Regions from separate parts of the Homo sapiens genome. Here regions 2, 3, 4 and 5 are each linked to region 1. The links are contacts of gene promoters, found by promoter capture Hi-C in human tissues and cell types (Jung and others, 2019). All regions are on one chromosome and are shown on one strand. The core of a region is centred on a gene start or on the middle of the fragment in contact, and the rest is flanking DNA. Distances in the headings are between cores, read along the strand shown. Region 1 holds the start of SNAI2 (snail family transcriptional repressor 2). Region 2 overlaps UBE2V2-AS1 (UBE2V2 antisense RNA 1). Region 3 overlaps UBE2V2 (ubiquitin conjugating enzyme E2 V2). Region 4 has its middle 72 kb from the start of UBE2V2. Region 5 has its middle 220 kb from the start of UBE2V2.

What was found. Contacts are between HindIII fragments. The study calls those that stand out against the background at their distance.
Region 2: a fragment that was not itself captured here is called in contact with the fragment with the promoter of SNAI2 in region 1 in 1 of the 25 tissues and cell types used here (mesenchymal stem cells).
Region 3: a contact is called between a fragment that was not itself captured here and the fragment with the promoter of SNAI2 in region 1, in 1 of the 25 tissues and cell types used here (mesenchymal stem cells).
Region 4: a fragment that was not itself captured here is called in contact with the fragment with the promoter of SNAI2 in region 1 in 1 of the 25 tissues and cell types used here (bladder).
Region 5: a contact is called between a fragment that was not itself captured here and the fragment with the promoter of SNAI2 in region 1, in 2 of the 25 tissues and cell types used here (dorsolateral prefrontal cortex and mesenchymal stem cells).

What each region holds. Positions count from the first base shown.
Region 1 is chr8:48,917,696-48,923,613 of GRCh38, reverse strand. It overlaps SNAI2 (snail family transcriptional repressor 2), which reads left to right and starts at 2,185. Exons shown (of 3, transcript NM_003068.5): 1 at 2,185-2,427; 2 at 3,173-3,718; 3 at 4,626-5,918. The coding sequence starts at 2,349. The coding sequence ends at 4,807. LOC107986942 (a long non-coding RNA gene) reads right to left here and starts at 2,057. Exons shown (of 4, transcript XR_001745895.3): 1 at 1,413-2,057; 2 at 850-924. RefSeq lists an enhancer at 1,995-2,074. The HindIII fragment of the contact is 3,481 bases long and covers 417-3,897 here.
Region 2 is chr8:47,983,809-47,989,726 of GRCh38, reverse strand. UBE2V2-AS1 (UBE2V2 antisense RNA 1) reads left to right here. Exons shown (of 4, transcript XR_928850.3): 4 at 69-699. Among named protein-coding and RNA genes, the nearest start is that of UBE2V2-AS1, 12 kb to the left of the region's middle. The HindIII fragment of the contact is 3,339 bases long and covers 461-3,799 here.
Region 3 is chr8:48,045,300-48,051,217 of GRCh38, reverse strand. UBE2V2 (ubiquitin conjugating enzyme E2 V2) reads right to left here. Exons shown (of 4, transcript NM_003350.3): 3 at 1,240-1,365. Among named protein-coding and RNA genes, the nearest start is that of UBE2V2, 40 kb to the right of the region's middle. RefSeq lists a silencer at 2,922-3,122. The HindIII fragment of the contact is 3,610 bases long and covers 455-4,064 here.
Region 4 is chr8:48,077,196-48,083,113 of GRCh38, reverse strand. No RefSeq gene overlaps it. Among named protein-coding and RNA genes, the nearest start is that of UBE2V2, 72 kb to the right of the region's middle. The HindIII fragment of the contact is 9,830 bases long and covers 1-5,918 here.
Region 5 is chr8:48,228,993-48,234,910 of GRCh38, reverse strand. No RefSeq gene overlaps it. Among named protein-coding and RNA genes, the nearest start is that of UBE2V2, 220 kb to the right of the region's middle. The HindIII fragment of the contact is 4,066 bases long and covers 840-4,905 here.

The DNA of each region.
Region 1 (5,918 bases), core at 936-3,435:
AGCACCTGTTTCGTCTGACTCACGCCATCAGCGCGCAGACTCGCCCTGCTCTGACAGCGGCCCAGACCTCACACGGGCATACGTGTTACTCGCTAGCACGCGGATCTGTGTAATGACATGCCCCATGCACAGACCCGAGCCCCATCCTCTCCTCACAGTAGGTGTGGCCGCACGTCCTGACGCCGATCTGTGCAGTGCACCCTCGGATACCTGCTGATGGGGCTGGGCTGGATTATGCCTCTGTGATCCAAATGTAAGCTTTTTTCATGCATAGTGAATTATTATTAAACGTTGTAAATGGATTTTTGAATACACATTTTAGTAGATGATCTTGTGTTATAACTACCAGCAAATAAATACCAAAACATTGTCTAACACTCTTCTTTGTTGTGAATAGACTGTGTAGAGTGAAACAAGGAAATAATAGCCATGGCGATATGTGTTTTCTCAACTGTGCTATATCTGTAACAAAAATGTGTGTTTTGTGGGAAATGGAGTGAAAAGCAAGGAGGACTCCTGCTCTCATAAACCCAGGTGCCTACATCCGAACAAACCCTCACATAGAGTAGCAAGCTTAGAAAACTGCCTCTGGCTTTTACTCCAGGTTCCAGTTTGTGTGTGGAGAAATCGAATATGTATTCATATTTTCCTCTCTCCTGCAAGTACAGTTCCATTAGCATAAGGATTCCTTTGAATTATTTTCTCTGTTTGACATTTAAATTAGTGACTGTTGGAAGAAATAAGAATAATCATTGAAATTAGCTTAGGAAATCTGTGAGTGCCCCACCTCACCCTCCAAACACACATACACTCTTGTTTTCTCATTCCAAGATTAAGAAGTTATGCAACCTGACAATGCACTTTTCTCTGACAAGTCTTGACATCACCACTGTTATTTTCTTTTTCACTTTTTTCCTCCAGCACCTGTTAGAAACAAGAGTAGGGTGATCTTCATGTGAATTTGTTCTTTCCTTATTCTTTTAGCAAAAGATAGGGATAAAAGTCTGCAATGGACAGAGATGCTTTAAAATATGCTTGAAATTTTATATTTAAAATAAACCACCTGAAAGTATTTTTAGATTGAAGACCATACACAAAATAAAGGTGTTTTTGCAGTTACTAGACTGGGTTCTTAAAACTTTAATCAATCTATATTCATAATAATATCCTTCAATTTCTTTTTTAGCATTATACAGGAAACTGGTAGATACTGAGATGGATTTTAATGGCTTTATACTGATGAAAATAGCACCACATAAAAGCAGGGGAATATTAGAAATAAAAATAATTGTCTCTAAAGACCCATACAACCCTTTTTCCCATAAAAAAAAAGATGCACTGTAATACATGAAAAGATAAGATCTCTTGTCAAAAGTGTGAGAGAATGTCCGGTGGTTCCAAATGACAGTTACCTCTTGCCCCCCTTCTCTGCCAGAGTTCCTTTTTATCTTTGCAATCTTCCAGTTCTTCCGATCAGCCTGCCTTTAGAGGGCTACAAAGCATTTCTTTCAAGCCACCATAGCTAACACGGTGACATGAGTACTTAATTTGCACGCGGCCGCGCTGCCCCTGGCTTCGCGGAAGCCCTGAGTAGCGCAGCGCCCTCGCCGCACGCAAGGCTGCAGTCCCGCTCCAGGCCAGAGTCCCAGGAGAGCGTCCTCCGCGCTCACAGGCGCCTTTGTCTTCCCGCTTCCCCCTTCCTTTTTCAAAAGCCAAGAGGTAATTATTTGGTCTTTGTGCAAGGCAAACCTCTCCAGATGCCACTTCCAAATATAGGCTCTCATTAACACCAGAGGCTGGCCTGGTGTGGTGCAGGGCGGCCCTTCCTTCTCCTGGCGGACACTGTGTCCCCGCGCGCTGGCGCTGCACCACATCTGGAAGCCAGGCGGGCAGGGCAGAGACCCCGGCTCCTGCGCCCCTCCTAGCTCCCAGAGAGCGTGGATCGCGGGCGGGGCTCACCGAGCGAGGTTACCTCTCTTGAAAATACTTAAACACTTTTTTTCCTCTCCACTGAAATCTCAAAAAACAGCCCATTTTGAACCAGAATAATTTAGTCTGACAACAGATTCTTCCTCTGTTCACAGCTGTCCCAGAGGGAGGAGCTGAAATCTGAACCTCTCAGCTGTGATTGGATCTTTCTTGCAAAAGAGAGGAAAAAAAAACCCTCCCAGCCAAAACGGGCTCAGTTCGTAAAGGAGCCGGGTGACTTCAGAGGCGCCGGCCCGTCCGTCTGCCGCACCTGAGCACGGCCCCTGCCCGAGCCTGGCCCGCCGCGATGCTGTAGGGACCGCCGTGTCCTCCCGCCGGACCGTTATCCGCGCCGGGCGCCCGCCAGACCCGCTGGCAAGATGCCGCGCTCCTTCCTGGTCAAGAAGCATTTCAACGCCTCCAAAAAGCCAAACTACAGCGAACTGGACACACATACAGGTAAAAAGAGAAAAATATATCTAGAACTACGTATCTAGAGCTTTGCAAATATGAATCTACGTATTACCCTTCAAATACCATTACAAAAGAGCCAAAGATTCAACTGTTTTCCTTTTTAACAGTGTCCTGAAAGGGAGCTTACATTCTTTTGATCATTTAGGGTTCGTTTTAATTCAAAACTTTTAAAATTCTTGACTAACAAGGAACATTTCATTCAAATCTCGCAGCTTCGTTTGCTAAAGCCTGTGTATACATGCATAATGAGTATGTGAAAGATGAGCAACATAAGGATTGAATTACTGCGTTTTTCATGCACTAAGTCTCCTTTCCTTTAGAAGGCGGCTTGATGCAGGCATATCTTTGTACTCACGGTCGTAATACACCTAAATAGCCCATACGTAACATGGAAAACAACTTTTCTGTATGTTTAAAAATAATGTTGAGGCTCTCCTTCCTCAATGGGGACGGCGAAGGCACTGGCTTGGCTGCACTGTCTGACTTCAGAGCACCTATAGCTCCGTGCAGCTGTCAGCCTATGTGTGCATTAAGTACAGTAACTCCGTAGGTGCCAGGGTGGAAATGAAACATTTTACCAGTGTGTATGCCCTCCTAAATGGGTCTATCTTCTTCCTAAGAAAATCACGTGTGTGTTGCTAAATATCTTTCCAGTGTGTGTATACTTGCGTGTGGATTTATTTTTAATTATTTTTGCCTTAATCTTCTCTCCCTCCCTTTTCTTTCCCAGTGATTATTTCCCCGTATCTCTATGAGAGTTACTCCATGCCTGTCATACCACAACCAGAGATCCTCAGCTCAGGAGCATACAGCCCCATCACTGTGTGGACTACCGCTGCTCCATTCCACGCCCAGCTACCCAATGGCCTCTCTCCTCTTTCCGGATACTCCTCATCTTTGGGGCGAGTGAGTCCCCCTCCTCCATCTGACACCTCCTCCAAGGACCACAGTGGCTCAGAAAGCCCCATTAGTGATGAAGAGGAAAGACTACAGTCCAAGCTTTCAGACCCCCATGCCATTGAAGCTGAAAAGTTTCAGTGCAATTTATGCAATAAGACCTATTCAACTTTTTCTGGGCTGGCCAAACATAAGCAGCTGCACTGCGATGCCCAGTCTAGAAAATCTTTCAGCTGTAAATACTGTGACAAGGAATATGTGAGCCTGGGCGCCCTGAAGATGCATATTCGGACCCACACATTACCTTGTGTTTGCAAGATCTGCGGCAAGGCGTTTTCCAGACCCTGGTTGCTTCAAGGACACATTAGAACTCACACGGGTAAGAGAAAAACCATAGGCAGGAATGTTACTCTGAGATACAATGAAGCCCTGGGCTGGCTGTTGGATTTGCATGAAGTTGTGACATAGTGCTTTTAATGATGGACAGTCATTGATAGCTACTTCCTGACTACTCAAAAAGTTGTTAGGGCACAAAGTGCTCCATTTCTTGCTAACAACCTCTGCTCCAGGGACTGCAAACAGCATGTAGACTTTGGAAAGTAGATTCAGAAGGTTTGGTCTCAAAGATCAGTTAGAAAATCAGGAAAGATGTGCTTGAATGTGTGTTCTGTGAAACTGCCCCCAGTAATCAGCAAATACAAATGTTGCTATCTTAATCAATTGATTTGGTTAATAGATGAAGGCTTTTCCTACAGTTTTCTGTTAGTTACATTCTTGCTCTGATATTTGTCACCCGTGGGTGACTTGGATAGTTGAAACTAAATTTACTTTGCCTCTCTTGCTTTGTTTGGGGATTTTTTGCTCCTTAATTTCTTATTCGTATCACAGAATTATTCTGCAGGGTATCATGGCACTTAGACCACCTTAATCATAGTACAGAAAGAGGGAAAAGGGGAAATATTGGGAAATGTTGGGAGGTGCTCAACATTAGCTGCATCTGCTAAAGCAGAAAGCTTTAAGAAGTGAAAGTCCAAGAACTACGTAAATTATTTCTGTATGATTGGCAGCAGTAATAATATTCGTGTATGATTTTTAAATGCAATATTCAAGTTTATCTTAAAAATTCAGGTATTTTTAAAAGTGTCTATTATGAGGGATTTTAATCAGGTTTTGCTGCTTCTCATTATTTAAGCAAAATGTGATTGACTTTTGTTAACATGATTTTACTTTATGTTTCCTCTAAAAACACTGACTGTCTTTCTTTTTTTCTCCCACTCCACCCCCAGGGGAGAAGCCTTTTTCTTGCCCTCACTGCAACAGAGCATTTGCAGACAGGTCAAATCTGAGGGCTCATCTGCAGACCCATTCTGATGTAAAGAAATACCAGTGCAAAAACTGCTCCAAAACCTTCTCCAGAATGTCTCTCCTGCACAAACATGAGGAATCTGGCTGCTGTGTAGCACACTGAGTGACGCAATCAATGTTTACTCGAACAGAATGCATTTCTTCACTCCGAAGCCAAATGACAAATAAAGTCCAAAGGCATTTTCTCCTGTGCTGACCAACCAAATAATATGTATAGACACACACACATATGCACACACACACACACACACCCACAGAGAGAGAGCTGCAAGAGCATGGAATTCATGTGTTTAAAGATAATCCTTTCCATGTGAAGTTTAAAATTACTATATATTTGCTGATGGCTAGATTGAGAGAATAAAAGACAGTAACCTTTCTCTTCAAAGATAAAATGAAAAGCACATTGCATCTTTTCTTCCTAAAAAAATGCAAAGATTTACATTGCTGCCAAATCATTTCAACTGAAAAGAACAGTATTGCTTTGTAATAGAGTCTGTAATAGGATTTCCCATAGGAAGAGATCTGCCAGACGCGAACTCAGGTGCCTTAAAAAGTATTCCAAGTTTACTCCATTACATGTCGGTTGTCTGGTTGCCATTGTTGAACTAAAGCCTTTTTTTGATTACCTGTAGTGCTTTAAAGTATATTTTTAAAAGGGAGGAAAAAAATAACAAGAACAAAACACAGGAGAATGTATTAAAAGTATTTTTGTTTTGTTTTGTTTTTGCCAATTAACAGTATGTGCCTTGGGGGAGGAGGGAAAGATTAGCTTTGAACATTCCTGGCGCATGCTCCATTGTCTTACTATTTTAAAACATTTTAATAATTTTTGAAAATTAATTAAAGATGGGAATAAGTGCAAAAGAGGATTCTTACAAATTCATTAATGTACTTAAACTATTTCAAATGCATACCACAAATGCAATAATACAATACCCCTTCCAAGTGCCTTTTTAAATTGTATAGTTGATGAGTCAATGTAAATTTGTGTTTATTTTTATATGATTGAATGAGTTCTGTATGAAACTGAGATGTTGTCTATAGCTATGTCTATAAACAACCTGAAGACTTGTGAAATCAATGTTTCTTTTTTAAAAAACAATTTTCAAGTTTTTTTTACAATAAACAGTTTTGATTTAAAATCTCGTTTGTATACTATTTTCAGAGACTTTACTTGCTTCATGATTAGTACCAAACCACTGTACAAAGAATTG
Region 2 (5,918 bases), core at 881-3,380, 930 kb after region 1:
TAGGCCCAGCCATAACCATTCATCTTTTTCTAGCATTCAGCCCTTGTCTCCTATGCCTTCTCACCCAGTTTTTACAGGACCCTATCAGCGCTTTCACCCACGGGACAATACAAAATATGATGCTGCTCCAGGAATACCAGAGGCTCCAAGAACAGCAGTCCCTACCGTCCAGCCTTCCCCGACAACTGTCGCCCTCTCCCAGTAAGAAGCAGCCAGATGATAACAGCACCCCTCTTCCATTACCTATTAAAAGTCTGGCATGAGAGGGACAACTGCCCCGAGAAAGCTTCTTTGTGCTGCCCACCCCTCCCCCAATGCTCTGCAATTCTTCTCCATGCCGCCCACCCTTCCCCAAGCCTCTTTACGTTTCTAAGCCCTTATGTAGTCGCTACGGTGAAGCCAACAGACTTCACTTATCAGACCTTGCTGCGATAAGCAAACCCCAATAACAAACCATCCAGACCGCACAGGGGGAGGTTGTGGGAAGCACAAACAAACTTTACTACACCCTCCTGTAATAAATGTCACAAGGTGATATGTGGCAAAATTAACCAGCAAACAACCCTGGGATGCAACCATACCAAAAAACTCCCTCAAACTTCCCTCCCCAATATAAACCCCTCATTCTGTAAGCTTGGTGCTGCTTCCCTTGACTATTAAGGGGGCAGCCGACAGGTTAATAAAAACTTGCTCACCTGACTTTGGGTCTATTTTTCCTTTCTCTCGGCTGATCTTACAGATATCTTTTTATCTCTCTCTACATTCACTTGGTGATCACACAATTAGGCTCATCACTTTAAGTGGCATCCATTTTTTTTTTTTTATTGTTTGTTTGGTTTGAGATGGAGTTTCGCTCGTCGCCCAAGCTGGAGTGCAGTGGCACGATCTCGGCTCACTGCAGCCTCTGCCTCCCAGGTTCAAGCGATTCTCCCGCCTCAGCCTCCCAAGTAGCTGGGATTACAGGCATGCACCACTATGCCCCGCTAATTTTTGTATTTTTAGTACAGATGGGTTTTCACCATGTTGGCCAGGCTGGTCTCGAACCCCAGAACTCAGGTGATCTGCCCGCTTCGGCCTCCCAAAGTGCAGGGATTACAGGCGTGAGCCACTGCGCCTGGGCAGCATCCGTATATTTCCACTCCCAATTTCTTATCTGAAGCCCGAAACCCTCCCATAAATTCTATGCTCTAATATCTAACTGCCTACTCAGGTTAGCATCTAAAAGGCTGTGTATTAGATGTCTCAAATTTAATTCAACTCCTATATTCTTCCCCAACAGAGTTCTACTGGAAGCCTTTTCTTTTTCTTTTTCTTTTTCTTTTTTTTTTTTTTTTTGAGACAGAGTCTTGCACCGTCGCCCCGGCTGAGTGCAGTGGTGCGATCTCAGCTCCCTGCAACCTCCGCCTCTCGGGTTCAAGCGATTCTCCTGCCTCAGCCTCCCAAGTAATTGGTATTACAGGTCCCGCCACCACACCCAGCTAATTTTTTGTATTTTTAGTAGAGATGGGGTTTCACTATGTTGGTCAGGCTGATCTCAAACTCCTGACCTCGTGATCCGCCTGCCTCAGCCTCCTAAAGTCCTGGAATTACAGGTGTGAGCCGCTGTGCCCGGCCAGAAACCTTTTCTTTCTTAGTAAACAACAAATCCATTCTTGCTGAGGCCAAAATCCTTGGAGTCATCTGATTTTAATTGCTTTCCCATATACCAGCAATCATCAAGTAGAATCTGAAATTTAAAACAAAATACTGAAACTGCCTTTGCAAAAATCATAACTGAGAAATATTACAATGAAAGAGATCCATCTTGCTTCTAACCCCCAGGCTGTCATTGTTCATTCCTGGGCCTAGGTTGAACTAACTTTGGGAGGAACTTAGTTTATAGTTTAGCTTTGAAACAAAGACAACAACCCTTTCCCAAAACAAGCCTTCCTGGAGACTAGACTGCCTTTGCAGGACTAACAAATTAGCCACAGGATTAGAAATTACAGTTTAGGAGCCATACTGCTGGAGGCTGCAAGATTCTAAACCTCTCCAAATTGCTCCTAGGGATAACATCACTATTGCAAAACCTAAGATCAGTGCTTGAGATATTTTGCAGACACTGCACTTGATTCATCAGCTGGCACCAATCAGATCGATAAACTGGCTCATCTGGTCTTGTGGCCCCCACCCAGGAACTGACTTAGCAGTGACAAGAGGACAGCTTTGACTCCCATCTCTGACCCGACCAATCAGAACTCCCAACTCACTGGCCCCCTACTCAGCAAATTTTTTTTTTTTTTTTTTGGAGACAGAGTTTTACTCTGTCGCCCACGGTGGAGTGCAGTGGCATGATGTCGGCTCACTACAACCTCTACCCCCCGGGTTCAAGCAATTCTCCTGCCTCAGCCTCCCGAGTAGCTGGGACTACAGGCGCACGCTGCCATGCCCAGCTAATTTTTTGTATTTTAGTAGAGACGTGGTTTCACGTGTTGCGCAGGCTGTTCTCAAACTCCTGAACTCAGGCAATCCGCCCGCCTCGGCCTCCCAAAGTGCTAGGATTACAGGCATGAGCCACCGCACCAGGCAGCAAATTATTCTTAAAAACTCCAATTCTCGAATTCTCGGGGAGACCGATTGGAGTAATAATAAAACTCTGGGCCAGACACGGTGGCTCACACCTGTAGTCCCAGCACTTTGGGAGGCTGAAGCAGGTGGATCACCTGAGGTCAGGAGTTCAAGAACCAGACTGGCCAACATGGTGAAGCCCCATCTCTACTAAAAATACAAAAATTAGCTGGTGTGGTGGCGTGTGCCTGTAATCCCAGCTACTCTGGAGGCTGAGGCAGGAGAATCGCTTGAACCCGGGAGGTGGAGGTTACAGTGAGCCAAGATCACGCCACTGCACTCCAGCCTGGGTGACAGAGGGAGACTCCGTCTCAAAAAAAAAAAAAAAAAAAAAAGTGGGACGTTTGAGAGGTGATGAGGTCATTAGGGTTCTGCTGTAATGAATGGATGATAGCCCTTATAAAATGGCTCAGGGGAACTAGCTAGCTCCCTTTCCACCTCTTACACCATGTGAGGACACATGTGTTCCTGCCCTCCAGAGGATGCAGCATTCCGGTAGCCATCTGGGAAGCAGAGACTGAGCCCTTACCAGACATCACACCTATTGGCACTTTGCTCTTGGACTTCCCAGCCTCCAGAACTGGGAGGAATAAATTCTGTTCTTTATAAACTACCCAGTCTCAGATATTTTATTATAGCAGCACAAATAATTAATAAAAAATTAATTAATTATTTTTTTTAAATGCCTCTCCATCCTAGGAAGCCTAGCCAAGGTCCTGCTATCCTATAGGTTTCAGTGACTTTCTCTCTTCTTGCGATCCCCAAAATGTCCTGAGGTTCCTGGGCCTGTGCGAAGTGACCGTCCCTTACACATCGCAAGGGAAACATGTGAGGGAATCTTGTGTACAAGATACAAAGCCAGCTTTTTCCTTCAAGGGGCCGTATTGGCTCCATGGAGTCAATCTTAGTTCCTAAAAGTTGTGTGATTATATCTGAAAATATGACATTTCAGTCAAAGCTTTGGTAACATGACTAATGTTTCCAATTGTGTCTTGGTACAAAGAGAGCAGATTCTTACTGAACTTATGCAAATAATTATATTGCCATGAAAATAAAAATACTAATAGTTTCTGAATTCTGCAGGGATAAAGTAGGAAGAAAAGATAAATGTTTACATTCTTTGTACAAAATTATAACTTACCAAATTGCTGTAAGCAATAGATAGCTTAGGAGAAAAGAAAATGGTATTCATATTATAATGATACTGATAAGGAAATTTTGTTATTTCAAGACATACAATATTTTAAGATAATAACTAGAATTAAGACTAATACTATGGTATCAGGACTATCAGATTTCTAGGAACTTTATGTAATTTCTTGAACACTAGTACTAACTATACCCAAAAATGTATGACTTAAAGAAGGTAAAACATCACTTTTCATTTGATAATACTTCCTATGCAAATTTAACATATCAAATAAGCTTAATTATTTTAATATCTTCCCTAAGGAGGGAAAAAAATTCTTTTGAGATAATGTAGGGGCCCTTGGAACATTCCAAAGTAATTTCAAGGTCAAAAGAACTTAATTTAGAAGTTGATTTTGGGAAGTTGTAAAAAATGTCAAAAGGTTTAAAATACTCAAATAGTACCACAGGTCACTGTGAAATATTTAGTTACACAAAGAGACTGGGTGCGGTGGCTCACACCTGTAATCTCCGCACTTTGGGAGGCCGAGGTGGGAGGATCCCCTGAAGTCAGGAGTTCAAGACCAGCCTGACCAACATGGTGAAAACCCTGTCTCTACGAAAAATACAAAAATTAGCCGGGCATGGGGGCACGAGCCTGTAATCCCAGCTACTCAGGAGGCTGAGGCAGAACAATCACTTGAACCCAGGAGGCGAAGGTTTCAGTGAGCTGAGATCGCGCCACTGAACTCCAGCCTGGGCAACAGAATGAGACTCAGTCATACAGTCAAAAGATTTTAAAGACAAAGACAGAAAGTTACAGAGTTGTAGGGAAAACATCCACTCTTTTAATAGAGAGGACTCAGTTTTCTTAAGTAATGAAAGACCTGATAAAACACAAGATCAAGTACAGGAAATTATTTTGATAAAACACAAAATCTTTCTTTGGCAGATTACTTAAAAGGTGAAGAAAAACCTCTTATAATTTTTTCCTTCCGTCCTTCCTTCCCTCCTCCTCCTTCCTGCTCCCTCCCTCTCTTCCTTTCCTTTTCTTTTTCCTTTCCTTTCCCTCTCTTTCTCTTTCTTTCTTTCTTTCCTTTTTTTTTTTTTTTTGACAGAGTCTCACTCTATCGCTCAGGCTACAGTGCAGTGGCACAATCTTGGCTCACTGCAACCTCTGCCTCCGGATTCAAGCGATTCTTCTGCCTCAGCCTCCCTAATAGCTGGGACTACAGGTGTGTGCCACCACACCCGGCTAATTTTTGTACTTTTAGTAGAGATGGGGTTTCACCATATTGGCCAGGCTGGTCTCGAACTCCTGACCTCAAGTGATCTGCCCGCCTGGGCCTCCCAAAGTGCTGGGATTATAAGCATGATCCACTGCACTCAGCCACAATTTCTTCTTACTTCAGAATTCTAAACGTTAGGCATGGTGGCTCACAACATGTTAACCAGCCTGGGAATCATAGCAAGACCCTGTATCTACAAAAAATAAATTGGCTGGGTGTGGTGGCTCACGCCTGTAATCCCAGCACTTCGGGAGGCTGAGGCTGGCGGATCACGAGGTCAGGAGATCAAGAACATCCTGGCTAACACGGTGAAACCCCGTCTCTACTAAAAATACAAAAAATTATCCGGGCGTGGTGGCGGGCGCCTGTAGTCCCAGCTACTCGGGAGGCTGAGGCAGGAGAATGGCGTGAACCCAGGAGGCGGAGGTTGCAGTGAGCCGAGATCACGCCATTGCACTCCAGCCTGGGCGACAGGGTGAGACTCCATCTCAAAAAATAAAAAAATAAAAAAAAATTATTCGAGAATGGTGGCATATGCCTATAGTCATAATTACTTGGGAGACTAAGACAGTAGGATTGCTTGAACCAGAAGTTTGAGGTTACAGTGGCCTATGATTGCACCACTGCACTCCAGCCTGGGTGACAGAACAACACTCCATCATTGATTGATTGATTGATTCTGTTGCCCAGGTTGGAGTGCAATGATGCCACCTTGGCTCACTGTAAACTCCGCCTCCCAAATTCCAGTGATTCTCCTGCTTTAGCCTCCAAAGTAGCTGGAATTACCAACGTGCACCACCAGGCCCGGATAATTTTTGTTTTTAGTACTCCTGACCTCGTGATCCGCCCGCCTTGGCTCCCGAAGTGCTGGGATTACAGGCGTGAGCCACTGTG
Region 3 (5,918 bases), core at 1,010-3,509, 870 kb after region 1:
AATTCAGCTGTTTCTACTAACTAACTTGTGTGGGTCAAGCAGGGCATGTCATTTTGTTTAAAGAGACAATGGGCTGGACACAGTGGCTCACGCCTGTAATCCCAGCACTTTGGGAGGCCAAGGTGGGCAGATCACTTGAGGTCAGGAGTTGAGTCCAGCCTGGCCAACATGACGAAACCCCATCTCTACCAAAAAATACAAAAATTAGATGGGCTTGGTGGCATGTGCCTTGTAGTCTCACATACTTGGGAGGCTGAAGTGGGAGAATCACTTGAGGCCACAGGAAGTGGGGGAGTACCACTGCACTACAGCCTGGGGGACAGAGTGAAACCCAAAAATAAATAGACAATGATGCTCAGCCATGACTGTTTCAACACAGACATATTTGCTCTTTAAAGAAAAAAACCCTTCATGAATATTCATCCTTTTCATGAACAGTCATCCTTTTAATCCCACCAAATGTACCTTAACCCTCAGAAAAGTAACATTCAAAGAGAAATAATGATCATCTCTTTTTTTTTTTTTTTTTGAGACGGAGTTTCGCTCTTTCACCCAGGCTGGAGTGCAGTGGCACAATCTCTACAAGCGTGAGCCACCATGCCCCGCCCAATAATGGTCATCTTTTTACCAAATAAAGATCAACTGAAATATGACTATTAAGGCAATTAAAACCCTAAGAAAACTTTTGGCCAGGCACAGTGGCTCATACCTGTAATCCCAGCACTTTGGGAGGCCGAGCCGGGCGGATCAACTAAGGTCAGGAGTTCGAGACCAGCCTGGCCATTGTGAAACCCCGTCTCTACAAAAATACAAAAATTAACTGGGCATGATGGCAGGTGCCTGTAATCCCAGCTACTCGGGAGGTTGAGGCAGGAGAATCACTTGAAGCCGGGAGGCAGAGGTTGCAGTGAGCCAAGATCGCACAATTGTACTCCAGCCTGGGTGACAGAGTGAGACTCTGTTTCAAAAAAAAAAGAAAAGAAAAAAAAAGTTTTAACCACCACATGCATCTATTCTAGGCAAGTACATTAAGGTTTTTAAGGATGGCCTAATTTATATTAATAAAAGAAAAACAACATAATGCAACCTTCTTTAGACTTTTGGCTTAACAAAGGTCCTCTTTTAAAAACTTTCTCCTAACTACATATTAATATCTTACATATATTATGGTGTGTGTACGTATAATATATAACTCTATACATTATGTTATATAAAACCAAAATGACTATATTAACTTACCATCCCACTGGAATTATTTATTCCGTTCATATTAATTTTTGTTACAAATCTAACTGACGGAGGAGCTTCTGGGTATTTAGGTCCACATTCTACTTTCAGGCTATATATTCTGTTTTCATAATTTGTCTGGAAGGCAAAAAACAAAAAGATAATCAAAATAACAATACCTAAAATATTAATGTCTAAGTGCTAAAAAAAAAAAAGGGAAAGTACAATATGAATGTACGTAAGACAGTGTTTATGATTAAGAATTTATTTTTCTACATTCAAATTTATTTCACCTATATGGTGAGAAAAAATGCAATAAGCATACTTAAAAATTGAGATTTTACAAAATTAATTCCATGAGATTTTACAAAATTAATTCTACAAAGTATTATCAATATGATCCCAAGTTGCTTTTGTGATAAAAATGATGCCTGTAACAAATTAGAACGAAGAAGGAAAAACGAAAAAGCAAACCACTTAAATTTAGATTTTGCTAAAAAGTTTACATTGTAGAGGGAGGGGCTACTTGAGACTTGTGTTAAACATATATGAAGGTTTCTGTTTTACAGAACAGTTCTGCTTATTCCTATTGTCCCAGAATTGACTATTAACAGTGCCTCCTTTCATTCTCAAAAGGGTCTTGTTGGATAACAAATTATATGATTATCCTACTAAATATGGCAATCAATAACTTCTAGCAAAAGAGAAAACCCCATATTATACTATTTTGCAGCAATAAAACATAATTATTTTATGTCCCCTGTTAGTTATACTTACGTTGCCACTTCATTAATTTTGAGGTTCATTAAATCCCATTATCTGAATTCAGAGATACAATGGCAAACTTTATGTTTACACATCATTTTCAAATAGGTATCAAACTTAAAGCTTCTAGATTATCCAGGGCTTATTTTCATGCCTATAAATTAACTCTTCTTTCTGCTATGGCTTTTGTTCACTCTGTTAACTTATTAGTGTACCATTAAAACAGCAAAGTAAAAAATAAATGAATCCTCACCTTGACTCAAGAGATTAAAAAGAAAAAAAAATTGTTTTAAAGAGAATTATAATTATTGAAACTTTAAATTTTCTAAATTATAATTAAAATAACATAAAAATATATACATAAATAAATGAAAGTGAAAAATTTAATATCTGCTGGCTGCTGTATAAGACCAGAGAGGGAGGAAGCTAACCAACCATCTACAGATCTCACCTACTCAAACTGATCCCATCCCCATAAACAAGAGCTATCCAAATGGAGGTCAGATTTGCAGTATTAAACTACTCTAATGTAAAACCTATGCAACAATGTTATATGTATGTTATTAAATATTTCAATACTTTAAGAAAAAAAGAGCTATATAAAACTCATCTGAGATTAATAGCAAGCAAATATTAATAATATCCCCAGCACTTTCAATATATAAAAATGACTAAAATCAGATAGATCTCATGATTATCTTGGCTGTGATTCTCCAATCTGGATGCATATCAGACTCCCCTATGATACAGCAATTCTATTCCTAGGCATTTACCCAAGCGAAATGGAAACAAACACATGTTCACAAAAAGACTTCTACAAGAATGCCCATAGCAGCTTTATTTGTAAAAGCAAGAAAGTAGATTAAATCCAAATGTCCATAAAAAGAAGTGATAAACACATTGTGGTATATCCATACAGTAAAATACTATTCAACAATAAAAAGAAACACACTCCTACTACATGAGATAACACAACTGAATTGCTCAGACTTCATGCTGAGTAAAGAACCGTAAGTGTACACACTACATGACCCTACTTACCAAAGCTCTACAACACGCAAATCTCTCAGGTGTGGGAAAGCGCAAAGGGAGCTTTCTGGAATGACAGGAATGTTCTGTATCTCAGTAGGGGTAACAAGCTACATTTGTCAAACTCATGGCACATCTGTGCATTTCACTACATGTAAATTCTACCTCAATTCCTTTTGTTTAAAAAAAAAAAAAAAAAAACCCAAAGCTCTTTTCTGAAAGATTTTATGTAAACAAAAAAAAATTTAATCCCAAAGCTAGCCTATTAATCTAATCCAATTCTTACAGTAAATATCACCCTAACTTCTGACACCTTTGATTTTATCCCCTCTAAATTTTAAATTAACAGGCTGGGTGTGGTGGCTCATGCCTGTAATCCCAGCCCTTTGGGAGGCCAAAGGCGGGCAGACTGCCTGAGGTCAGGAGTTCGAGACCAGCCTGGCCAACATGGTGAAACCCCGTCTCTATTAAAAATACAAAAATTGGTAGCACACGCCTGTAATCCCAGCTAGTCGGGAGGCTGAGGCAGGAGAATCACCTGAACTCGGGAGGTGGCAACTGCAGTGAGCTGAGATCACGCCACTGCACTCCAGCCTGGGTGGCAAAGCAAGACTGTCTCAAAAAAAAAAAAAATTTTAATTAACAGTCAAGTTTTTCTGTTATCTAATAAAAAGCAAGAGCAAAAAAAAGAGGAGAAAAACAAACTAATATTTACTAAGTCAAGTACTCAGGTATTCTCCTATTATCTAATCATTATTTCACTTAATTCTCACACTGTTTCTATTTTAAAGATGGGGACAGTACCTTCATTAAATATGAGAAAACTTGAAAAAGTACTAAACTCTAGTGACAACAAATATTGCTTCAGAAAACTGAACACAAAAACATAGAAAAACAAAACTGCTAATCATATAAATCCAAATAAATACTAGAACAACATAAAAAATGAGGGATCTGGCTGGACATGGTGGCTCACACCTGTAATCCTAACACTTTGGGAGGCCGAAGGGAGTGGATCACCTGAGGTTGGGAGTTCGAGACCAGCTTGACCAACATGGAGAAACCCCATCTCTACTAAAAATACAAAATTAGCCGGGCATGGTGTCGCATGCCTGTAATCCCAGCTACTCAGGAGCCTGAGGCAGGAGAATCACTTGAACCTGGGAGGCAGAGGTTGCGGTGAGCCCGAGATAGTGTCACTGAACTCCAGCCTGGGCAACAAGAGCAAAGCTCCATCTCAAAAAAAAAAAAAAAGAGGGACCTTAGTCAATAAAGTACAAAAAATAAAAAACAACTGGCCAGGCACAGTGGTTCACGCCTATAATCCTAGCACTTTGGGAGGCCACGGCAGGTGGGCCATTTGAGCCCAGGAGTTTGAGACCCGTCTGGGCAACACAGTGAGACCCCCATCTCTACACACACACACACACAAATTAGCCAGGTATGGTGGTGTACCCCTATAGTCCCAGCTACTCAGAAGGCTAAGGTGGGAGGATTGTTTGAGCCCAGGGGGTCCAGGCTGTGAGGTGTGATCGGGCCACTACACTCCAGCCTGGTTGACAGAGTGAGACTATCTCAAAATAAAATAAAATAAAAATAAAAAACAACGAACCATGTAACATGTTAAAAGTCTTCCTCCTCTCAACCGGGCACGGCGGCTCACGCCTGTAATCCTAGCACTTTGCGAAGGCCGAGGTGGGCGGATCATCTGAGGTCGGGAGTCTGAGACCAGCCTGAGCAACATGGAGAAACCCTGTCCCCACTAAAAATACAAAATTAGGCCAGACGCGGTGGCTCACGCCTGTAATCCCAGCACTTTGGGAGGCCGAGGCGGGTGGATCACAAGGTCAGGAGATCGAGACCATCCCGGCTAACATGGTGAAACCCCATCTCTACTAAAAATACAAAAAATCAGCAGGGCGTGGTGACAGGCCCCTGTAGTCCCACTACTCGGGAGGCTAAGGCAGGAGAATGGTATGAACGCGGGAGGCAGAGCTTGCAGTGAGCCGAGATGGCGCCACTGCACTCCAGCCTGAGCGACTGAGCAAGACTCCGTCTCAAAAAAAAAAATAAAAATACAAAATTAGCTGGGAGTGGTGGCACATGCCTGTAATCCCAGCTACTAGGGAGGCTGAGGCAGGAAAACCGCTTGAACCTGGGAGGCGGAGGTTGCGGTGATCTGAGATTACACCATTGCACTTTAGCCTGGGCAACAAGAGCCAAACTCTGTCTCAAAAACAAACAAACAAAAAAGTCTTCCTCCTCTCCTGGCTAGATGTAGATACTCTACCCTGGGGACAAAATTGTTCTCAACATTGCACCTTCTAAGGAGAAAACAACTGTGGTAAGATACCAACTCCTGCCTGTTTTATGAAAAGGCAACTGAATATGCCTGCTGTGACCTGCCTTCAAGAGAACTGAGAAGGTGATGCAGAGAAGATCATCAGGTGGTGAGCAGAGGCCAGTTCCAGAAGAAGCCTGTGCCTTTGCAGGGCACACCCTCCTACCTCTGCCTGGCACTCAAAGGAAGTGAGGGGGTCTCTGATGAGGTTCAGGACATACTATCCCAAAATACGGCACCTTGGCACTTAAGAAAACAGCAGAAGCAAGGTTACTCTTACCTTACCTTCGCCCCCTTCTCCCCTGAAGCAGACCCTAAAATCTAGCTGACCTCCCCACGAAGTAGGTAGGTCATGAGAACCACTCCAAAGGGGTCTTGTCTTATGCCAAGAAAGGAATGAAATCCAAAGACACAGGAATAATGTGAACAAACAGGCCCTGGTAAGTTCCCCCAGTTTATTACCTAGTGTGTTACCATCAGATCCAATCACGCTGTTGCATCACTGTCCACTCTTCATCAAATTTAGCATAAAAATACACGGTTTCCCTGTTTCTTT
Region 4 (5,918 bases), core at 2,402-4,901, 840 kb after region 1:
GGGATGCTAATGAGTTGATGGGCATTAGGTTGTTTCTACTTTTTTGCTTTTGTGAATAATGCTGCTATGAACACTGCTGTACACTATTTGGTGTGGACATCTTTATACCCAGGAGTGGAACTCCTGGGTCATATGAAGACTTATGTGACAAAAACATGTTGAGGAACTCCCAGATTATTTTCCAACATGGCTGTAGCATTTGACAGTCCCACCAGCAATGCAGGAATGTTTCAGCTTCTTTGCATCCTCATCAGCATTTGTCATTATCTGCTTTTCCGTTCTGGCCATTCTGGTGAGTGTGAAGTGTCACCATTGTTGTTTTGACTTGCATTTCCCTAAGGACTGAGGATGCAGAGAATCATTTCATGTGTTTCTTGTCTATTTGTGTATCTTCTTTGGAGAAATATCTACTGCAATCCTTTGCCTATTTAAAAATTGGATTATTTTTCTTCTTTTTATTGAGTAGTGAGAATTCTTTTTGTAATCTAAATGCAAGTTCCCTATCAGGTATATGATTGCAAATATTTTATCCCATTTTGTGGTTGTCTTTTCACATTTGAATCACAAAAGGTTTTGCTTTTTATGAAGTACAATTATTGTATTTTCTTTTGTCGCTTGTGGTTTTGATGCCACATCTTAAAAGCCTTCATCTCACCTGCAGTGATATTTTCTTCTAAGATTTTATCTTTTTTTGTTTTATTATTTTTTATTTTTTAAGATTTTATCTTTATTTTTTTATTTTTCTTTTGAGACAGAGTTTCGCTCTGTTGCCCAGGCTGGAGTGCAATGGCACAATCTCGGCTCACTGCAGCCTCTGCCTCCAGGGTTTAAGCAGTTCTCCTGCCTCAGCCTTCTGAGTAGATGAGATTACAGGCACGTGCCACCACGCCCGGCTAATGTTTGTATTTTTTTTTAATAGAGACAGGATTTCACCATGTTGGCCAGGCCTGGTCTGGAACTCCTGACCTCAGGTAATCCGCCTGCCTCAGTCTCTCAAAGTGCTGGGGTTACAGGCGTGAGCCACTGCACCCGGCCAGATTTTATCTTTTTAGCTCTTAAATTTAGATCCATAGTCACCTTGGAGTTAATTTTTGTGTGTGGTCTGAGAAAGGTATCCAACATTATTCTTTTGTATGAGGGTATCCTATTGTGCCAGCACCATTTGATAAGAAGAGGATTCCTGGCCAGCCACGGTGGCTCATGCCTGTAATCCCAGCATTTTGGGAGGCCAAGGCGGGTGGATCACCTGAGAGGTCAGGAGTTTGAGATCAGCCTGGCCAACATGGTCAAACCCCGTCTCTACCAAAAATACAAAAATCAGCCAGGCATGGTGGTGCCCACCTGTAATCCCAGCTACTCGGGAGGCTGAGGCAGGAGAATCACTTGAACTCGGGAGGCAGAGGTTGTAGTGAGCTGAGATCACACCACTGCACTCCATCCTGGGCAAGAGAGTGAGACTGCATCTCAAAAAAAAAAAAAAAAAGGGTTCCTACCCACAATTAGTTTTCTCAGCACACTCTGAAAATCAATGGACTGCAAATGTAATGGCTTACTTCTGGGCTCTGTTTATTCCCTTCATCTATATCTCTATGTCTGTATCCCAGTACCATATGGTCATGATTATTGTTATCTTGCAGGATGCTTTAACATAGGGAAGAGTCTTCTAATTCTGTTTATTTCTTTGAAGATTGTTTTAGTTATTCTGGGTCCTTGGCATTTTCTGTATGAATTTTAGGATCAGCTTACCAATTTCTGCGAACTCGCCAACTAGGCTTTTGATGGGAAGTATGTGGAATTGACACAGGAATTATCTCAGTTACTTTGCCAGTCGGGACCTCTGGCCGGCGACACCCCCCCAACCCCGGACCTTGCTCAGCCCCGGGACTGCCACTGGTGGTGCCCCAGCCCACCTGTGTTACAGCTTGGTGGCTCCTGAGTTTTTGTCCTGTGTCCAAGAAGAATGAGGATACACTGACAGTTGAAGGGTAAGGATAGGCGGAGAATTTTATCGAGCAGTGGAATAGCTCTCAGTGGAGAGGCGATGCGGAAGGGTGGGTAAGGGGGTCCCCCACCTCCGCAGTCGGGTGGTTTTCTTCTCTCAGCGTGGCTGGGCCCTGGGCTTTTTATGAATTCAGAATGGGAAATGTTTGCTGATTGGTTTGTGAGTATGCGAAAAAGGTTAAAGCAAAGACACCACTCAAAGGTGGACATGACAGTGTAGAAAATCAATTAGGAAAGATTAGGTATACGTAAAATAGATGAAGGGTGGGGATCAATCAGAGGAGAAAGCATGACAAATGGGAAGACAGGTTCTCAATCCAGTCCGAAGATTTAACTTGTAGCTTGGCTTTCAAGCTTTAAACTGCCTTCAGCTTGGGGGTGGGGTTTCACCGGGGACTCGCCCCTATCTGCCTGGGCATTTGGCTGCCTCCTGTCACTATCAGAATGTGTAGAACACTTTGGGAATTATTACCATCCCAGCAATATGAAGTCTTTCCATCCACGAACGTTTTTTGTCTTTCCATTTATTTATGCCATCTATAATTTCAACAATATTTTGTAGTTTTCAAGGTATACGTTTTGTATTTTTTGGTCAGGCTTATTGCAAGTATTTTATTCTTTTTGATGCTATTGTAAATGGAATTGTTAAATTTCATTTTCAGACTGTTCATTGTTATTGTGTGGAAATTTAATTCATATTTGTATATTGATCTTGTATCCTGAAACCTTGCTGGACGCATTTCTTAGTTCTAATAGTTGTTTTAATGGTTTCCTTAAGATATTCTATATGTAGGATAATGTCTGCAGGGAATAGAGATTGTTTTTCTTCTTCCTTTCTAATCTAGATGCCTTTTATTGCCTAATTTCCCTGGCTAGAAACTCTGGTACAATCTTGAATAGAAGTAGCAAAAGTGGACATCTTTGTCTTTCTTATTCATGACGTGAAGGGGACATTCAGTATTTTGCCATTAAACATTGGTCTTTTGTAGGTTTTTTTTTGTGTGTGTGTAGCTGTTCTTTATCAGGTTAAGGAAGCTCCCCTCTGTTTACAGTTTTTTAAGCATTCGTATTATGAAGTGGGCTGTATTTTTTCAAATGCACTTTTCGTGTCGATTGAGATTGTCATGTGGTTTTTGTTTTTATTGATATTGATATTGATAATTGATATTTATGTTTCACATTTAGTTCTCCAAGAACTCTCCTTCAGGACTCATATTCCTAGTCATGATCTTTGCGTTTTTGCTCTGTTTTGAGATATTTCTTCTATTCGACATTCAAGTCCACACTATAGTTGAAATATGCCAAAATTTCCCTTTTTATCTCCTATTTCAAATGTTTAAATTTCAGAAACTGATTAAGTTTCTGCTTTTAGTACCACCAAGCGTCTTCCCCTTCCTCCCTTCCTTACTCCTCCCCCTTTCCTTCTTTTACTTTCTTCCCTCCTTCCCTTTCTTACTTCTTGTATGTTTCCTATGTTTCCATGTCAAATCCTTCAGAGTTCTCAGTACGATTTCACTGTTGTTATGTACCAGAGTCTCTCTCCCATGGTTCCCCGTCAATTGTAAACATCTACTGGTTTCTTTCAAGTCATTCAGTATCCTTTCATTAGTTACACCTTTTTTGCCTTATATAGCTACTCCTGGATTTTCGATGGTGTTATGTGCTGATCAACCCATCATAACTCAAAAATGCATTTAATATCCCAATGAACCAATTGTAAAGTTAGGGGAAAAAGATAATGGAAGAGCGATTAGACAAAAAAAGAAATCAAAAGTATTTAGATTGGAAAAGGAGAAAAACTATTTGCAAATAATAGGATCTTAGATATAGAAAAGCCTAAATAGTTTATGCAGAAAAGCTATTAGAGTTAATAAACTACTTCAGCAAAATTGCAGGATACAAGACCAATATACAAAAACCAGTTGTAGCAATAATCCAAAATTCAAATTAGGAGAACAGTTCCAGGTATGATAGCATCAAAAAGAGTAACATATGTAGGGATAAACTAAAATGGAAGTGCAAACTTATATGCTGAAAACCACAAAATATTGTTAAAAGAAACTAAAGAAGATATAAGTAAATGAAAAGTCATCTCATGTTCATGTGTTGGAAGATGTAATATTAAGATGGCAATACTCCCCAAAGCAATCTACAGCTTCATTGCAATCTCTACCAAAACTTCAACAGCCCTTTTTTTTTTTTTTGGCATAAATGGACAAGCTGATCCTAAAATTTATACAAAAATGCAAGGAACCCAGAATAGCCAAAACAGTCTTGAAAAATAAAACTGGGCCTGAACAGAACAAAAAGTGGAGGATGGGAGAACTTGTCCCTTCTACCTGATGTTTCAGCTGGGACATCAGTCTTCACCTGCCCTTGGACTAAGACTTACGTCGTCAGCTCTCCCAGTTCTCAGGTCTTTGAACTCAGACTTTCCTGCATCTCCAGCTTACAGACAGCACATGGTGATACTTCTCTACCTCCATAATCACGTGAGCCAGGTCCTCATAATAAATCTCTATCTATCAATTCATCTGTTGGTTCTGTTTCTCTGGAGAACCCTCTACAGTGACCTTGGACTAGGCAACAGTTTCTTAGATAAGATCCCAAAAATACAAGTCACCAAAAAAAAAAAAATAGAAAAATTGGGCTGCATCAGAATTAAAAACATTTTTTTGCATCAAAGGATAATATTAAGAAAGTAAAGAGACAATCCAAAGAATGGGAAAAATATTCACAAGCTATATATTTGATAAGATCCAGATAAGCTATATATTTGATAAGTATCCAGAATACATATAGAAAAACTCTTACAAGTCAACAAAAAATGGGCCAGGCATGGTGGCTCATGCCTGTAATCCCAGCACTTTGGGAGGCCATGGCGGGTGGATCACCTGAGGTCAGGAGTTTGAGACCAGACTGGACAATACAGCAAAACCCCGTCTCTACTAAAAATACAAAAATTAGCCAGGCGTGGTGGCACATGCCCGTAGCCCCAGCTACTCAGGAGGCTGAGGCAGGAGAATTGCTTGAACCCAGAAGCAGAGTTTGCAGGGAGCCGAGATCGTGCCACTGAACTCCAGCCTGGGCAATAGAGCAAGACTCCATCTCAAAAAAAAAAAAAAAAAAAGACAACCTAAATTTCAAAATGAACAAAACAGCTGGGCACAGTGGCTCACACCTGTAATCCCAGCACTTTGGGAGCCTGAGGCAAGTGGATCATTTGAGGTCAGGAGTTTGAGACCAGCCTGGCCAACATGGTGAAACCCTATCTCTACAAAAATTAGCCGGGTGTGGTAGCACGTGCCTGTAATCCCAGCTACTTGGGAGGCTGAGGCAGGAGAATCACTTGAACCCGGGAGGCGGAGGTTGCAGTGAGCCAACCGAGATCATACCACTGCACTCCAGTCTGGATGACAGAGCGAGACTCCATCTAAAAAAAAAAAAAAAAGGCCAGGCGCACGGTGGCTCACACCTATAATCCCAGCACTTTGGGAGGCCGAAGCGGGCAGATCACCTGAGGTCAGGAGTTCAAGACCAGCCTGACCAACATGGAGAAACCCCATCTCTACTAAAAAGACAAAATTAGCCAGGCATGGTGGCACATGCCTGTAATCCCAGCTACTTGGAGGCTAAGGCAGGAGAATCACTTGAACCCAGGAGGCGGAGGTTGCGGTGAGCCGACATCGTGCCATTGCACTCCAGCCTGGGTGACAAGACAGAAACTCCATCTCAAAAAATAAAATAAAAAGGCCAGGCATGGTGGCTCATGCCTGTGATCCCAGCACTTTGGGAGGCTGAGGCGGGTGGATCACTTGAGGTCAGGAGTTTGAGACCAGCCTGGCTAACATGGTGAAACCCTGTCTCTATTAAAATACAAAAATTGTCTAGGTGTGGTGGTGCACGCCTGTAACCCC
Region 5 (5,918 bases), core at 1,623-4,122, 690 kb after region 1:
GAGAATATTGGGGCCAGGCCACAGTGCAGAAAAAAATGAGCTGCTTCTTTTTCAGGGTTTGTGGATCAAATTGGTCCCAATGGCTTAGGATGCATTTCAAGGGTGAGCCTGTTGATGCCTCAGTGTTTCCCATCTGAAAGAAAAAACTGCCCCCAGTTTTGGTTTGTTTGTCCGCCCCCCTCCCCCCCCCCAATAACCTACAATGGTCCCTGGACCCTGCTGATTGGAATAGTTGTGCTCACCAATGCAGCAGCAGAAGCCCTGCTTGCCCAAGAACCCACAACAATCCCTGGACCCTGCTGATCAGAATAGTTGCACTCACCGATGCAGCAGCAGAAACCCCTCTTGCCCAAGAACCTGCAATGGTCCCTGGAGCCTGCTGATCACAATAATTGCGCTCACTGATGCAGCAGCAGAAACCCTAGTTTTCCTCTTAGACCACAGAGGACTGAGGAAGGTCAGATTTAGTGGCCCTTACCAACACATTCTTGAAAACCTGCACCCTTGCCTGTCCTCCTAGACCACAAAGAGGACCAAAAAAAATCAGATTTAGTTTCTCTTACCAAAACATTATCAAAAACCTGTTAGAGTCCTAAGCATTCTCCTGTTAGTATTGGGAACTTAGCCCATCCTATAAAGATGTTATGCCCCAAAAGTGAAGTGGAGGGCCATACCCTGAGGGAGGGAAGGGATTTCCAGGGTTGGAAGAGTGACGCCTTTTGTCTTCACTTACATGAATAGGAAGGATATAATTTCTGAGGCTCCCCATAGCCTAGCTTCAGGAATAGCTTTTGTTAGGCCTGCTTGTCTGAGGAGGGATCCTAAGAAGACAGTTGGTCTCCCCACCCAATGGGGCTTTGGGCAAAAATTATGTCTTTCTGATTGGTGAGCCCAGGTGCCTAAAGAAGGGAACAGAGTCCTGAAGTTTATACCAGAAATCATTCTTATAGGAGAAACTAGAAAAGCACCAGAGACAAGGAGTGGTTTTTAGAAGTGGGACTAGCCTCAGAGAAGAGAGGTGAGAGGAAGTTTGTCTCACAGGCATTAGGACCCAGAAGGCAAGGGTCAGGATAGATAGGATAGATAAGCGAATCTCGCTTGGGCGACGTGACTTGGAGAGTTCTGCTCATGGCTACAGGGTCAACCAACTTTTTGTTGGGACCCCAGAGCTGAATGGCTTTCCTCTCTGTCGACCCTCAGCTCAGCCCAGAAATGCAGGAAAAGCAGAAGCTGGTTCCAGGCAAACCAGCCCTCCCAACTCCAAAGAGTTGGGGGTTGTTAGAAAGCCCTTTCCCAGAAAGCCTGACACCCGTATCTTTAGTCCAGTGGCCATGCTAGTTGCTTTTAACTGGTGACAAGTGCCCGGTATTTAGCCCCCGAATTCTAAGGACTAAATACCAAAAGGAAAATAGGACAAAATAGCAAGCAAAAGGGGTCCAATGGTACTCACCACTTGGCAATTGTCCCTTCATGGTCACCAAGATGTGTCCCATCTGGGTCACCAAGATGTGTCTGGAGTTGGTTCTTTCAGGTGGGTTCTTGGTCTCGCTGACTTCAAGAATGAAGCTGCAGACCTTCGCGGTGAGTGTTACAGCTCTTAAAGATGGTATGTCCAGAGTTTTTTCCTTCAGATGTGTCCGGAGTTTCTTCATTCTCATGGGTTCGTGGTCTTGCTGATTTCAAGAATGAAGCCACGGACCTTTGTGGTGAGTGTTACAGCTCTTAAAGGTGTTGCAAACCCAAAGAGTGAGCAGCAGCAAGATTTATTGTGAAGAGAAAAAGAACAAAGCTTCCACAGCATGGAAGGGGACCCAAGCAGGTTGCCGCCACTGGCTGGGGTGGCCAGCATTTTTTCCTTTATTTGTCCCCACCCACATCCTGCTGAGTGGTCCATTTTACAGAGTGCTGATTGGCCCATTTTACAGAGTGCTGATTGGTGTGTTTACAATCCTTTAGCTGGACACAGAGGGCTGATTGGTGTGTTTTTACAGAGTGCTGATTGGGGCATTTACAATCCTTTAGCTAGACAGAAATGTTCTCCAAGTCCCCACTCGACCTAGGAAGTCCAGCTGGCTTCAACTCTCAATACTACAGCAATGGAAACTCTCCGTCCAATATTTCAGTTAGAAGATGCTACCATGTATAGCTCTACTGCAAATAGTAGAATGAGTACAGCAATTCCTTTAAGGGTGATGTAGTAGATTATTTACATCTAAAATTTATCTGCCAACATACAGAATTTCCCTTTGTGGTTCTATGAAGTTCCTTGGCTTTATTTTCCCCAAGAAACCTCTAGGTTATGTGAATCCTACTCACTTTTATTACCTGGCAGAATTTGCAGGATAATTGCCCAGAAGTAGCATATTGATTCAGATTTTTACATTACCCATTCCTTTTTGTTTCTTTCAAGCTGCAGAAGATCACCACTTGATTCACAGGAATAAGCAGGGTTAGTCTAAAATGTAGGCCAAAATCTTAAAAACAATTAATAAGACTAGGATTTCATGACAAATGTATAATAAGCTTTGGAACATAATTTCTCTCTCCAGTCCTACCTTTTGGTTAAAACAAGTTATGATAGGACCATGTTATTTGTAGAATAAACTTTAGCCTTATAATTGGCCTGATTATTTGCATAAAGTGCAGCAAGAATGTTTATTTTAACATAGGCCTTGTTGATTGGCTTTGATGGAGCTCCTTTCCACAAGGAATCTCAAATAAGACCTTTTAAAGCTGAGCTCAGCCATGGGTTTGTATCCTCAAATACCTGTGAGTTGGGTGATCCTTTTCTCTTAAGGTCCCAAGATAAATTGGGAGCTCCTGGACCTGTTAGAAAGTGACATTCTTGGCCGGGCATTGTGGCTCACGCCTGTAATCCCAGCACTTTGGGAGGCCAAAGTGGGAGGACCACGAGGTCAAGAGATCAAGACCATCCTGCCCAACATGGTGAAACCCTGTCTCTACTAAATATACAAAAAAAATTAGCTGGGTGTCGTGGTGCACACCTGTAATCCCAGCCACTTGGGAGGCTGAGGCAGGAGAATTGCTTGAACCCAGGAGGTGGAGGTTGCAATGAGCTGAGATCATGCCACTGCACTCCAGCCTGGTGACAGAGCAAGACTCCGTCTCAAAAACAACAACAACAACAACAAAAGAAAGTGACATTCTTTACTGACCACAGGTTAGAAACCCTGTGCAGGGACTGTGTAGGCAAGGTATGAGGCCAGTTCTCTCTATAGGGCTTTTATTGGCTCTGCAAGTTGAGATTGACTCCTTAAAGGGAAGCATACACTTCCAGTCAAAGCCTTGATGAAATAACCAGTTTTTACAATTGTGTCCTCTTGGGGAAAAAAAATGGATTCCTATTACATTGCTGCAAACAACTATATTGCCATAAGTTAAGCATATTTACATATAGTTTCAAAATTCTAGAGGAACCAGGCAGAGAGAAACAAACATGCTCCAAATTTTGTTCACAGGAGTATGCCTTACTCAGTTATTAAAGGCCATAAATAGTTCAAAATAAGTTTTCTCAACTCAAAAATGAAACAAGGATCAGCAATATTTCAAGCAAAAGTCAAAAAGGTTGCTTTAACTTTCTGAGTGCAGTCCATTTAGTTAACTCTTGTTTTGCTTGACATACATGAACATTTCAGTTCTTCATGAGTCCCATACATTCTTTATCTATTTCAATGTTACAATCTTCAAAGCTATTAAAAACTCGCAGTTGAGAATACCTAGTAAAGTCCTTAATATAGCTTGATTATAACCCATCTTTTGAGAAGGAACCAAGCAAGACAACAATTATCTGTAAACAAAATTTCCAGGATAGATACAGTTAAAAACATGACAGACAAAGGAGTTCATTTATCTCTGCGGCTTACAATAACTTTACCCTTAATTATGATTGATAGCATATATTCAGACATTAGAATTTTACAAACCCCATACAATTTTAGAAAATATATCAGTATTATTCACCAAAATATAACCTAAAGAAGATTTTTAGCAATCATTTTAGCAATCCCATGTAACTAAACATGTCAAATAATCCTGTTCACCTCTTCTCTAGATGTTTCAGAGGCCCTCTGAGCCATCCAGAAAGCCAGGAATCAGGAAAAACAATTTTGAAACTTGGAGTTTGATTTTGGGATGATGAAATCGAATTCCAAACTGCCATAAATTATTCGTTTTGCCAAAATGATGACTCAAAAGGCAAAAACCTTTCATTAGCCTTTACTATTACATGAAAATCCTGTTCAAAGCCAAATTTTACCCTTGCATTAATTTCATTAATTTAGTAATGTTAACTTCAAACTGCTTAAAAGAAACCTTATAGACAATACCATCTAATCTTTTTTTTTTTTTTTTTTTTTTTGAGATGGAGTCTTGCTCTGTCACCCAGTCTGGAGTGCAGTGGTGCAATCTCAGCTCACTGCAACCTCTGCCTTTCAGGTTCAAGTGATTCTCCTGCCTCAGCCTCCCGAGTAGCTGGGATTATAGGCACCTGCCACTACAGCCAGCTGATTTTTGTATTTTTAGTAGAGATGGAATTTCACCATGTTGGCCAGGCTGGTCTCGAACTCCTGACCTCAAGTGATCCTCCCACCTTGGCCTCCCAAAGTGCTGGGATTACAGCCAAGCCACCACACCCGGCCTAGTAAGCAATTTTAATTATGTACCAGGTGTGGAGCCTAGGACCCAGACAGAGTGCAGATAAAGTTTGACTCTTTCCAGCATCTAGCTCCATGTGTTCCAGGCCTTACCTTTCCTGAAGCAGGCAGTATACAACCTTAGAACATGTAGCAAACCTAGTATCTAAGTTGTATAATTTAGACCACCTATTTGCATTTTGATGATACTTGCATTTTACCAATAATCCTTAAGACTATTCTTTATTTCTTAAAGATTAAAGTCACATGAAATAAAAAAGTATTTGATTTAAGTACTTATTTTTCTTTTTTTTTTTTTTCTTTTTTGAGACAGAGTCTCGCTCTGTCACCCAGGCTGGAGTGCAGTGGCGTGATCTCAGCTCATTGCAAGCTCCGTCTGCTGAGTTCATGCCATTCTCCTGCCTCAGCCTCCCGAGTGGCTGGGATTACAGGCACCCACCACCACGCCCAGCTAATTTTTTGTATTTTTAGTAGAGACAGGGTTTCACCGTGTTAGCCAGGATGATCTCGATCTCCTGACCTCGTGATCCACCTGCCTTGGCCTCCCAAAGTGCTGGGATTACAGGCGTGAGCCACTGCGCCCAGCCAAAGTGCTTATTTTTCTTTAAGCCAATCAATTAGAGCTCTTTTTATAGACATTACACACAACACATATATAGTGACACAAACAGACAGAAGGTTCAGCATTTGTAGGATTTTTCATTTGGCAGTTTCTTAACTGGATTACTGGCTTCAGGGTGGAGCCCTTGGAGAAACAGGGCCAGGCAGGCAGGCATTTCTAGGGTGTAATAAACAAGCACAGCTGAAGGCAAAGACAGATCCCCCAAATTAAGGGTGCCATTTTATACTGGATTTTGGATCCCCTAAAGGAGGGAGATACTATGGGAGAAGACAGTGCAGTGCTTCTACCATGCATTTCATTGCAAGGCAACTCAAAGCCAATCAGCTTATTTCATAATCAGCCCATCCCCCATGGGATTCTCATCTCTCAGTGGGGAGTGGGAATGTTTCCATATCTTTCAGGTGGCCAAGAGCATGCTTCTCTGATTTACAATTATTGTTAGCCATCTCTTAAAGTGTATTTCTTACCTAGTTATTACACAAAGCCCTCTCCTAAAGTGAACTAATTTGATACCCCCAAAACTCCAAACGGACAGATAACACAATGCAAAACAGAACAGAACCTTCGATTTTTTTTTTAAGTATTATTATTATACTTTAAGTTTTAGGGTACATGTGCACAAT